Regions from separate parts of the Homo sapiens genome. Here region 2 is linked to region 1. The links are contacts of gene promoters, found by promoter capture Hi-C in blood cells and fetal thymus (Javierre and others, 2016). All regions are on one chromosome and are shown on one strand. The core of a region is centred on a gene start or on the middle of the fragment in contact, and the rest is flanking DNA. Distances in the headings are between cores, read along the strand shown. Region 1 holds the start of RBMX2 (RNA binding motif protein X-linked 2). Region 2 has its middle 19 kb from the start of ENOX2.

The links. Contacts are between HindIII fragments. The CHiCAGO score rates a contact against its expected background, and 5 or more counts as called.
Region 2: a contact is called between a fragment that was not itself captured here and the fragment with the promoter of RBMX2 in region 1, in 7 of 17 cell types (monocytes, M1 macrophages, erythroblasts and 4 more). The highest score is 10.9, in monocytes.

Annotation. Positions count from the first base shown.
Region 1 is chrX:130,397,827-130,404,412 of GRCh38, forward strand. RBMX2 (RNA binding motif protein X-linked 2) reads left to right here and starts at 4,161. Exons shown (of 6, transcript NM_016024.4): 1 at 4,161-4,211; 2 at 4,429-4,544; 3 at 5,976-6,027. The coding sequence starts at 4,207. The HindIII fragment of the contact is 29,468 bases long and covers 1-6,586 here.
Region 2 is chrX:130,918,596-130,925,181 of GRCh38, forward strand. No RefSeq gene overlaps it. Among named protein-coding and RNA genes, the nearest start is that of ENOX2, 19 kb to the left of the region's middle. The HindIII fragment of the contact is 1,911 bases long and covers 3,069-4,979 here.

The DNA of each region.
Region 1 (6,586 bases), core at 2,911-5,410:
TCTTTGCTGTCACCTGGAGACAAATCACCATCATCCGTCGTCTGATTTATTGTAGAGCTTCCAAACTGGTCTTCCTGCTTCTACTGTAGGCACCCCCTGCCCCCTCCCTGGTCTGTTATCAACACAGCAGCTAAGGTGAACCTACTAAAATGTACATCAGATCAAAGTTCTTTGGTGACTCCCTACCTCACACTGAGTAAATTCCAAAGCCAGTACCCAGCATGGCCATGTTTGATCTGTTCTCTTTACCTCAACTTATCCTGTGTATAGGGGTTAAGAGTGCAGACTTTGGAGCTATATGACCTGGATTCAAATCCTGGTTCTACCATTTACCAGCTGTGTGACCTAGGGCAAGCAACCTAACCTCTCTGTGCCTCTCTTTTCTCATTTACCAAGTGAGGATAATAATATCTGCCTCATAGGGTTGTTGCAAGAAGTAAATGAATTTATACATGTAAAGTACCTAGAACAGTGTCAGGTACATGGTAGGTACTAAGTAAGATTTTCTCAAATAAACAAAAATCTATCATTCTCCCCCTTGCCTACTCCTCTCCAGCCACACTGGCCTCCTTTCTGTTTCTGAAATACACTCAAAAGAGTGTCTCAGAACAATACTGTTTTACCAGACACTCACATGGCTTCCTCGCTGTCTTCCTGTGGTGGCACACGCCTGTAGTCCCAGCTACTTGGGAGGCTGAGGCAGGAGAATTGCTTGAACCTGGGAGGCGGAGGTTGCAGTGAGCCAAGATTGCACTACTGCACTACAGTCTGCGTGACAGAGTGAGACTCTGTCTCAAAAAAAAAAAATAAATAAATAAAAATAAAAATAAAAATAAAAAAAGGAAAATTCTAACCATATAGAAATGAACAAAGGGAAAATAAAATAAAGTCTTCTCTACCCCTACCCTCATCTGTTTTCCTAAAGGTAATCATAGTTGTGTGATTTTTCAATTTCATTAACCAGTAAGTATATTGGTTGCATTCTATGTATATAGGAAAATGTTCGAGGCTTGAGGTTCTGAGGGGCTTATAAATGCAGATCCTTTACCTTCCAGGATTTCATGGTCTTTCTGGGAGAAGAACATAAAGGAGTTCTGTAGTGTTACAGAGTTCAGAAGTGAGAGCCATCACTGTGGGCACATAAGATCGGGAAAGGTTTCCTGCATGATGAATGACTTGTTGGGGGCTTGGGGCTTGGGCAGATTTCAGTGAGAGAGAGGAGGGTGGTCCAGGGCTATGAGGCTCTCTCAGCAGAGGTGCCTAGGTGGGATGATGAAAGGGGCCTTCGAGGGAATGGATAGAAGTGGAGCCCGGCTTAAGTTGAGTTTTTTAGTGGGGGAGCAGTGACAGAAGAGAATGGAGAGTAGGGGCTGGGGCAGCTAGAAGAGTACTGAAAGAGCTAGGAGGCATGTACTAATGGCTCAGATAGGACTGTGACTGGAAGAGACACATTTTATAGATACTTCAATAGTACAATTGTTAGGACTTGGTGAGTGAATGGATATGTTGAGGTGAAGAATAGGGAAGACTGAAATATGAAACCCATGTTTTTGAGTATGGGCAACCAGGAAAATGGTGATAATATTGCCCAAAATAGGGAAGTCTGGAGGAAAAACTGTTTGGGGGTGTGGTGTGGTGGTGGGAAGTTGGGAGATGACTCTGGCTAGATAGTTCAGCCTTTCCTTGAATGTGGGGACTGCCTTTGACTACCTTAGCATTACCCTCAGAAGCTAGAACTAAATACTGCATAGAATATTTTCTAAATGGATGCTATTGGTGGAGATCACTTATAGCCACCTTGGATGCCAAACCCTCGTTCTACTTTCAGATGTTAGATTCAGAGGGTCCTCTGCATCCCCACCTCTTTTCAACTCAGACTTACGGGTATCTCTAGGCATCATCTTACCTACCAATTCCTGCCAAATGCAAGTACATCTATGGAAAATCCGACTTCCTTGCTTCGTTATTTACTTCAGGATCTCCTAGGGTGATCAACCATCATGGTTTGTTCTGGGGTTGCCAATTTTAGCTCCAAAAGTCAGAAGTCTCAGAAACCTCTCAGTTCCAGGAAAACTGGAGCAATATTCAGCTCTCTCACCTTCAGAATACCTCTGCTGAACCTACCAGCTGCATAGTAATAATAGCCTTCTCATGTTCTCAATCTAAATTGGTCTTATTCTACTCTTTTGCTCCAGCTTCTCTCGGAACACTGATGACTAATCCCCAGGTATAGTCTTAACTCTCTCATTTCACAGCCATTTGAAGAAGTCAGCAAGATAATGCTGCATGCTAGTTTACCACTCTGCAATGGCTACTTCAACCCACAACTAAGCAACCTGAGATTCCTAGGAGCAGATAAACCCCATGTGCAATCTGTCACTGTTTAGCTTTCATTGCCAAGATAATTTTACAAAGTTAATGAATAGCTGGGTTGGAATGGGGAGGGGGGAACAGACACAGAATGAATGAGGAGGAACTGTCATTGGTGGGCAGCCTCTGTTCTCCTTCTTGGCAGGACATTGGTTACATGGTGGGCCACTTGAGGGTACAGTTGTTATCATCATCAAAATGCTTTTATGAAGGACCTAATATCTGGTGCTCTGAGTTAGGCCGCACAGCTCTGGACTTTCACTTTTAGAACATCATAGTCCAAGAGCAGGTATTGATGTGGACACATGCAAAATGGATTCAAACTGTCAATATGGGTTAAATCACATATTATACATTAATAATCTCTTCCACTGGTTTCTAGATATTTCTGGTTGAAATCTATCAAGCAAATATATCTTGTCCCCTTAATTATAATATTAGCTCCTTGAAGGCAGAGGACCCACCCTGATACTCCTGTCTACAGACCTTAGCTGTACAGGACAAATCTAGATGTTCAGTAAGGACTGATTAAATCAACCTGACCTGACGGGTGCAGGTAGAGTACCTTTCAAGTTAATTTATTCCTTTGAGCCTCATTTCTTCCTCTACAAAATGAGGGTGGAAATTTTTTTTCTTTTCTTTCTTTTTTTTTTTAAATAAAAAGGAGTCTCACTCTGCTGCCCAGGCTAGAGTGCAGTGGTGCGATCTCAGCTCACTGCAATCTCTGCCTCCCAGGTTCAAGTGATTCTCCTGCCTCAGCCCCCTGAGTAGCTGAGATTACAGGCGTGTGACACCATGCCTGGCTAATTTTTGTATTTTTAGTAGAGACAGAGTTTCACCATCTTGGCCAGGCTGGTCTTGAACTCCCGACTTCAGGTGATCCACCCGTCTTAGCCTCCCAAAGTGTTGGGATGACAGGCATGAGCCACCACACTTGGCCCCCCTTTTTTTCCCTTTATTTTAGAGACAGGGTCTTGCTATGTTGCCCAGGATGGTCTCGAACTCCTGAGCTCAAGCAATCCTCCTACCTCAGCTTCCCAAAGTGCTGGGATTACAGGCTGAGCTGCTGTGCCCGGCTAGGGATTGTAATTTTCTCTGCTTTATTGGGTTGTTGTGAGGGTGGAGAGACAATACATGTAAATTGCTTAGTACATACTCTAGCATCGTATAGTACATCATCTGCTCAATTGTTAGCTATTAATTTAACAATATTAATTTCTGCCTCCTGCTCAACTAGGAGAGAGCCTATGGAAAAGAGTAAGTGCAGCAGTTCTCATGCAAATGTGTAGGTATTCGATTCAGCCTATAGAAGCACACTGGTCTGTTGCCTATGTATTGGGATAAGGACAACAGAAGATTTACCTTTTCACCTATCTTCTTCACTTTTCTGCCATGACAGGGATGCTTTGATGGGTCTGTGCTTTAGCAACTGACTAGGAGCGAAGGTCCAAGTGGGACTCTGGACTGGGAGCGAGGGCTGAGACTAAAGTCGCCACATCAGGCTGCTTGTTCCGTTCACTCAGCAAATATTTATAGCTAATCTAACCAGTTTCAGATATCGTTCAAGAGGTGGGGGTCCTGCAACAGCCCAGGCTTGTGCCTTTACCCCATTTCACAGAGAAGAAAAAGCGAAAAACTAGAGAAAAACCACCTCTCCAAGAGGTAACCGCACGCAGCGCGGAAGGCTGCTAGTGCGCAGGCGCCACGCCCCGGTACGCCCCGGCTCTTCCGGCGCGAGGTCACCGAATCGACTGGCCACTGGCGCCGGGGCCGCGCATGCGCTGCGCTGCCTTTCCCGGGCGCTGATTCCTGAGTGCTGAGCGCGAACCCGAGGAGATGAAGTAAGGCGTCAGCTTCCTTTTGAGGAAGGAGCAGCGGGCCACTGGGGGTGGTCCACCGGGACTGGTGTGGTAGAGCGTCTGCGGGGCCGAGGGGCGGGAGCGGCGCGGGGACTGGAACAGCTCGTCCCCTAGTTTTGCTCTTCCTCAGCTCCGGCCGGTTCGCACTTACTTGTCTGCTTTTCTGCCTACCCTCCCCACCCCCCCCGCCACCGTGAAGCCCTTTAACTAAGGTGAAGCTGATCAACGAGCTGAATGAACGAGAGGTCCAGCTTGGGGTGGCCGATAAGGTGTCCTGGCACTCCGAGTACAAGGACAGCGCCTGGATCTTCCTGGGTGAGGTCCACATCTTTCTTCCTCAGTGCTCTCCAGATTCTCCTGCTCGGTTTCCGACTATTTCGGCATTTTCACCCTTCACTCCTGCTTACATTCATCGCCCACCTTCATATCCATCTGCTGTCTGCCCGGGAATCCGTGTTACATCTCTTTTCTGCCCCATTTTTAGTTTTCCTTCCCTGCCAAATCAGTGCTCATGAGAGTTACTGTTTGCCATTTGCTGTGCTAAGGTTCAGGGACTGTTGTTATTTCTCTCTCACCCTCTGACCCATTATACTGCTGAGGAAATTGGGGTGCAGAGAAGTTAAGGGACTTCCTTAAGGTCACATAGCTAGTAAGCGCAACAGGCAGAACTATAGCATTCTAGAACTCTTGGTCTTAGCCACAGCTCCATATTGCTACCACCACCCTCCCCCATTCCCCTTCCCTTCCAGAATTCACTTTGCTCCTCTAGCTCCTGCTTTCTAGTCCATGGCCACGTTACCATTACTGTATTCACTTTATATCACAATCAGTAATTGTACAAGTTTGATGCTTCAAAGAGGTTATTGTACCAAACATTGTGCTAAGCACTTTATATACATCGTTTTATTTAACTCTTATAATAATCTTGCGAGTTACGTGCTAATATCCCCATCTTACAAATGAGGAAATAAATATTTGGAGGGGAAATTATTCCCTAGGAAATGCTTAACAGTGTCTTTATAACCTTTGTCTATGTGTAGGTGGGGTTAATCATGACATATGTAGACTGATTTTGTATCATAGCTGTAAATTTGTGGGTAATGAGCAGATGAATTCAACATGTTTGTGGAAGCAGAGGTTTGTGATGGAAACTATCTGCTTTGTCCATAGGATTTTGGGTGGCAGGAGGACTGAGTGATCAGATTAGTTTCGTTAGTGGTGACCCCGACTTCCACTCAAAATTAATTACTCCTTTTTCTGTACTACTGGCACCTTACATGTACTTCTGTCATTGAGTCAGACTTAATTTCTTTCTTTCTTTCTTTTTTTTGAGCTGGAGTTTCACTCTTGTCGCCCAGGCTGGAGTGCAATGGCACGATCTCGGCGCACTACAACCTCTGCCTCCTGGGTTCAAGCGAGTCTCCTGCTTCAGCCTCCTGAGTAGCTGGGATTACAGGTGCCCGCCACCTCACCTGGCTGATTTTTTTTTGTATTTTTAGTAGAGCCGGGGTTTCGCCATGTTGGACAGGCTGGTCTCGAACACCTGACCTCAGGTGATCCACCCTCCTCAGCCTCCCAAAGTGTTGGGATTACAGGCGTGAGCCACGGTGCCCAGCCCAGACTTGATTTCTTTAAGGGCAGGGCCTGTTGCTTACTGTTTCCACCCCTAGTGCCTGGCCTAGTGCGTGGTATGTAGTAAACACTTGGTAAATGTTGGTGGAACTGAAATGTGGTTTTCTCTTCTAGGAGGGCTTCCTTATGAACTGACTGAAGGGGACATCATCTGTGTGTTCTCACAGTAAGTGTCCTTTCATTTCCTGCCTCCTGAGTCGACAGAGTACTTTGTTTCTGTAATACATTTTGTGGCATCACAAAAACCACTTATTTTCACTCTAGGCTGAATGGCATCCCTGCATGGGGAGGGCTGGAGCTTCTGTTCTAGATCAGTCCCAGGACATGGTTCTAGAATGTTCTGTGGGAGATCCAAGAGGTTTGTTAATTTGGGAGGGCATCTTGGGGATCCTAGTCTATTTCTGTTGTTTTTCACTGAGGCTTGTTCAGCCTGGGCCTAGACTGGAACAGACTGGACTCCTTGGGCTCTTGCAAACTAGGGGTAACCCATGGTCACAGGGCCCTTCTGGCCCTTACCTGTGTGGCGTCATACGATTGGGGCAAAGCACAGAGGAAATTGGGGTAAAAAACAGAAGGTCGTAGTTTGCTTTCTTTGTTTCTCGATGAGTGTAAGGTTAGTGAGCAAAGGCAATCTCTGCCTGGAGGCTGAGAATCACAGCCCGAAGGGAACAAGAATGAATAGGAGACCTGTATATTCTTCATTCTGCTGAGGTGTTAGCAGCAGC
Region 2 (6,586 bases), core at 2,774-5,273, 520 kb after region 1:
AGAAAAAGGTTTAATTGGACTTACATTTCCACGTGGCTGGGGAAGCCTCACAATCATGGAGGAAGGCAAGAAGGAGCAAGTCATGTCTCATATGGATAGCAACAGGCAAAGAGAGAGAGAGCTTGTACAGGGGAACTCCTCTTTTTAAAACCATCAGATCTCATGAGACTTACTATCACGAGAACAGCACAGGAAAGACTTGCTCCCATGATTCAATTACCTCCCAGTGGGTCCTTCCCACAACATATGGAAATTCAAGATGAGATTTGGGTGGGGACAGAGCCAAACCATGTCATTCCACCCCTTGCCCCTTCCAAATCTCACATCCTCACATTTTAAAATCAATCATGCCTTCCCAACAGTCCCCCAAAGTCTTAACTCATTTCAGCATTAACTCAAAAGTCCACAGTCCAAAGTCTCATCTGAGACAAGGCAAGTCCCTTCTGCCATGAGCCTGTAAAATCAAAAGCAGGTTAGTTACTTCCTAGATACAGTGGGGGTACAGACATTAGGTAAATACAACCATTCCAAATGGGAGAAATTGGCCAAAACAAAGGGGCTACAGGTGCCATGCAAGTCCAAAATCCAACAGGGCAGTCAAATCTTAAAGCTCCAAAATGATCTCCTTTGACTCCATGTCTCACGTCCAGTTCACGCTGATGCAAGAGGTGGGTTCCCATGGTCTTGGGCAACTCTGCCTCTGTGGCTTTGCAGGGTACAGCCTCCCTCCCGGCTGCTTTGATGGACTGGCATTGAGTGTCTGCAGCTTTTCCAGGCTCACGGTGCAAGCTGTCAGTGGATCTACCATTCCCGGGTCTGGAGGATGATGGCCCTCTTCTTACAGCTCCACTAGACAGTGCCCCAGTAGGGACTCTGTGTGCAGACTCCAACGCCACATTTCCCTTCTGCACTGCTCTAGCAGAGGTTCTCCATGAGAGCCCTGCCCCTGCAACAAATTTCTGCCTGGACATCCAAGCATTTCCATACATCTTCTGAAATCTAGGTGGAGGTTCCCAAACCTCTGTTCTTGACTTCTGTGCACTGGCAGGCTCAACACCCATGGAAGCTGCCAAGGTTGAAGCTTGCACCCTCTAAAGCCACGGCCTGAGCTCTACATTGGCCCCTTTCAGCCATGGCTGGAGTGGCTGGGATGCAAGGCACCAAGTCCCTAGGCTGCACACAGTACAGAACCCTGGGCCTGGCCCACAAAACCACTTTTTCCTCCTCAGCTTCAGGCCTGTGATGGGAGGGGCTGCCATGAAGACCTCTGTCATGCCCTGGAGGCATTTTCCCCCTTGTCTTGGGGATTTGCATTAGTTATGCAAATTTATGCAGCTGGCTTGAATTTCTCAGAAAATGGGATTTTCTTTTCTATCTCATTGTCAGGCTGCAAATTTTCCAAACTTTTATGCTCTACTTCCCTTATAAAACTGAATGTTTTTAACAGCATCCAAGTCACATCTTGAATGCTTTGCTGCTTGGAAATTTATTTCACTAGATACCCTGAATCATCTCTCTCAAGTTCAAAGTTGCACAAATCTCTAGGGCAGGGGCAAAATGCTGCCAGTCTCTTTGCTAAAATGTAGCAAGAATTACCTTTGCTTCAGTTCCAAACAAGTTCCTCATCTCCATCTGAGACCACCTGAGCCTGGACCTTATTGTTCATATCACTATCAGCATTTTTGTCAAAGCCATTCAACAAGCCTCTAGGAGGTTCCAAACTTTATCACATTTTCATGTCTTCTTCTGAGCCCTCCAAACTGTTCCAGCTTCTGCCTATTACCCAGTTTCAAAGTTGCTTCCACATTTTTGGGTATCTTTTCAGTAGCACCCCACTCTACTGGTACAATTTACTGTATTAGTCCTTTTTCATGCTGCCAATAAAGACATACCCGAGGCTGGGCATTTTACAAAAGAAAGAGGATTAATTGGACTTACAGTTCCATGTGGCTGGGGAAGCCTCACAATCATGGAGGAAGGCAAGGAGGAGAAAGTCACGTCTTACATGGATGGCAGCAGGCAAAGAGAGAGAGCTTTGGCAGGAGAACTCCTCTTTTTAAAACCATCAGATCTTGTGAGACTTATTCAGCATCATGAGAACAGCATGGGAAAGACTTGCCCCCATGATTCAATTACCTTTCACTGGGTCCCTCCCACAACACATGGAAATTCAAGATGAGATTTGGGTGGAAACACAGCCAAACCATATCACTCATATTTCTGATTCTTTCTTGTTATTGAGATGTAACATATATGGTAAAATGTACCAATCTCATGTACACCTTGACAAATTTTTATCGGATGTATGTCTGTATAACTAAAGTATATTCCAAAGTGGCTGCACCAAATTTATTCTCTTGCCAGCAATGTATCAAAAGTTAAGTTACTTCACATCCACAGCAACAGTATGGTCAGTACTTTAAATTTTAGCCATTCTGATTGGTGGGGGAGAAGGGTAGGTTAGCTGTACCTCTTTGTAGCCTTATATTTATCCAGTGAATAATGATGGGTGCATCATTTGGATGTCCATTTTGTATGCCTGTTATTTTAAAACTTTGTCAATCTATTCTTACTGATATATAAAAGTTTATTATATATGTTCTGAATATGTATCAGCATATATACAGATCTTCTTCCAGTCTGTGTCTGGCCCTTTTCCTCTTTATTTTTATCTTGTCTTTTGATTAAAAGATATTCTTAGCTTTAATGAAGCTCAATTTATCGCTTTTTTTGGCTATTTTTTTCTGTCCATTTAAGAAAGTTTTGCTTCCCTGAATATAATGAAAATATTCTTCTACTTTTCTTCTAGAATTAATTAATGTTTGTGTATGATGTGAGTTAGAGGTCAAGGTTAATTATTCCTTATGAGTATTCACTTTACCCAGAATTATCTTTTCACCACTGAGTAGTAGTGATGATTCTGTCATGAAGCAAGTTACTGTATGTGTAGATTTGTTTCCTAGCTGTCTGTTTTATTCCACTTGCCTGTTTATGGTTTTATCAATACCACACTGCTTAATTACTATAGCTTTATAATAATTATTGCTATCTAGTAGTATAAGTACTTAAGCTTGATAGTGTTGGAGGATAGTGTTAGGATAGTGTTGGAGGTGGTGGTTCTTCCTTTGCTTCTCCTTCTCTCGATACCTCCCCTTCCTTCCTCTTCCTCCTTTTTCTCTTCCTCCTTAATTTTCTTGGCTATTCTAAGTTTGTTGATTTTTCATACATGATTTTACATTGCCTTATCAATTTTTTGAAAGCTGCTGAGATTTTGAATAGTATTTTCATGAGTGCATACATCAAATTTGGAAGAATTGACATCTTTAATGATATTAAGTCTTCCTTCCATGAACCTGGCATATTAAATTTATTTAGGTCTTCTTCAGTTTCCTTGGCAGTATTTTGTAGTTTTCACTGTACAGATCTTATAAAAAATTTTGTAAAATTTATCCCTAATTGTTTTCTCTGTTTACATGCTGTTGTAAATAGAATTATCTTCTTAACATCATTTTTCATTTTTTTCATTGCTACTATACAGAAATATAATTGATATTTGTATATTGCCCTATTGTCCAGTGACCTTGCTAAATTCACCTATTAGTTCTAGTAGCTTTTTGGTAGGTTCCTTGAAATTTTCTGTGAGCATAATCATGTTGTTTGCAAATAAACAGTTTTAATTTATTCCTTTTGAATCTGTATTCCTTTTATCTCTTCTTCTTGCCTTATGGTGCTGACTAGGACTCCCAGTACAATGTTGAATAAAAGTGGTGGGAGTGGACATCATTGCCTTGTTGCTGATATTAGGGGGGAAGTATTCGATCTTTCACCATTGACTATGATGCTAGTTTTAGGTTTCATGTAATGTCCTTGATATAGTTTGGCTGTGTCCCCACCAAAACTCATCTTGAATTGCAGTTCCCATAATCTCCATGTGTCATGGGAGGGACCGGTTGGGAGGTAATTGAATCATTGGGGCAGCTTCCCTCTTGCTATTCTCATGACAGTGAGTAAGTTCTCGTGAGATCTGATCGTTTTATAAGGGGCTTCCCCCTTCGCTAGGCTCTCATTCTTCTCTCTCCTGCTGCTTTGTGAAGAAGGACATGTCTGCTTCCTCTTCCACCGTGATTGTAAGTTTTCTGAGGCCTCCCCAGCCCTGAGGAATTGTGAGTCAATTAAACCTCTTTCCTTTGTAAATTACCCAGTCTCAGGTTTGTTCTTATAGCAGCATGAGAACGGACTAATACAGTCCTCAATCAGGTTGAAGAAGTTGTATTCTATTCCTAATTGCTGAGATATGAATGCTGAATTTTATCAAGTGTGTTTTCTGCAAATGCTGAGATCATCATATAGATGTTCTCCTTTATTCCATTAATATGGCAAATTGCATTGATTTTCAAATGTTAAAGAATCTTTTATTAATGGGACAAACCCTACTTTGTCATAATATGTTATACTTTATATATATTGTTACTAAAGTACTAAATTCTGACTTTAAAAATTTTTTCAATTGTACATAAACTAACTTACTTACTTTCTCTCTCTCTCTCTCTCTCTCTCTCTCTCTCTCTCTTTTGAGACAGGGTCTTGCTCTGTCACCCATGCTGGAGTGCAGTGGTGTGATCATGGCTCACTGTGCAGCCTCAACCTCCACAGGTTCAGGTAATCCTCCCACCTCAACACCCCGAGTAGCTGGGACTATAGGCATATGCCACCATGCCTGGCTAATTTTTGTATTTTTTGTAGAGGTGGGGTTTCACCATGTTGCCCATGCTGTCTTGAACTCCTGAGCTCAAGTGATCCGCCTGCCTCAGCCTCCCAAAGTGCTGTGAATATGGGTGTGAGCCTTTAGTAAAAAGACAAAGACTTTCAAATTAGATTTTAAAAACACAACTCTGTGCTCCTTAAAAGAGACCCTTTGCCTAAAGCATGCAGGAAAGTCAAATATAAAATAGTGGAAAAAGGTGTCTGGCCTGTACATAAGCTTTCTATTGCAATGTTTTCTGTCCTTGTTATCATTTCCTTTCTTATATTTTCTTTAGGTTAATTTGTTTTACTAGCTTTTTGAGCAGGAAGATTAGATCGTTGATGTTCAACTTTTTTCATTTTAGTTCATGCATTTAAAACTTTAATCTTCCTACTGAAAACTGATCTAGCTGAATCTTACACTTTGATAGTTTATGTCAAAATAGATTATTCAATTCAAAATATTTTCAGCTTTCCACTGTATTTTTTTGACCTATCAATTATTTATAAGGTATTGCTTCATTTTCAAACAATTGAAGGTTTGGGGATATTTATTTAATATTGGTTTCTAGTTAATTTTCATTTTGGTTACAGAGCCTCTCCTATATTACTTCAGTCTTAACAATTTGTTGAAACTTGCTTCATCACTCAACATATGGTCTTTTTTGGGAAATGTTCTGTGAGCTCTCGAATATAGTGTGTTTTCTGCTATTTTTGCAAATGGTATTCTATGTATGTCGATTAGGTCGACTTCATCTGTTGTGTTGTTTATATCTTTATATAAGTACTGACTTTCTGCATTTTCTGATTTACTTTGAGAAATGTGTTAATTTTTCATACTACAGTTGTAGATTTGTCTATTTCTGCTTTGTTACATGAACTTATGTGTTATGTATTTAAAAATGTGAAATTTGGGGGGAGGGGGGAGGGATAGCATTGGGAGATATACCTAATGCTAGATGACGAGTTAGTGGGTGCAGCGCACCAGCATGGCACATGTATACATATGTAACTAACCTGCACAATGTGCACATGTACCCTAAAACTTAAAGTATAATAAAAAAAATGTGAAATTGTGTGCACAAACATTTATGATTTTTACATCTCCCTGTTGAGGTTGTATTATGCCCCTACGAACTAGTGATTTTTGTATCTTCCATTTAATTCTTTCTTAATCTTTGAATTCTGTTGTTGAATTCCTTTGCCATTATGAAATATCCTTCTTTCCGTAAGTATACTTTGAGTCATAATAATATAGCTATATCAACTTTCTTCTAGTTATTGCTTACATGGTGTGTATCTTTTCCCGCTCTTTTATATTTGACTTTCTTCCATGCTTTAGGCAAAGTGTCTCTTTTAAAGAGCACAGAGTTGTGTTTTTAAAATCTAACTTGAAAATCTTTGTCTTTTTACTAAATTGCTTATTCCATTTGCATTTCTAAATGTGTTGACTATAACTTATATATAATAAAGTGCACAAGTCTTAAGTGTGCAGCTTCATGAATGTTTATACATGTAAACACCTCGTAACCATGGCCGGACCAAGATATAGAATATTTTCAGCATCTAGCAGGCTCATTTTGCCCCTTCCCAGTTATCCTCATAGAAGACTACTATTCTGACTTCTATCATCATAAATTAGTTTTGTCAATTTTTAGTGTAATACTCACGGAATGACACAGTATGTACTCTTTAGTTCTACTTCTTTCATTCAATATATTTCAGTTAGATTCATCAATGTTGTTGCGTGTGCTAGTAGTCTATTTTTAATTTTTGTGTAGTATTCCATTATATGAATTTAACATTTATTCCATCTACTGTTAATGGAATTTTTGTTGTTTTC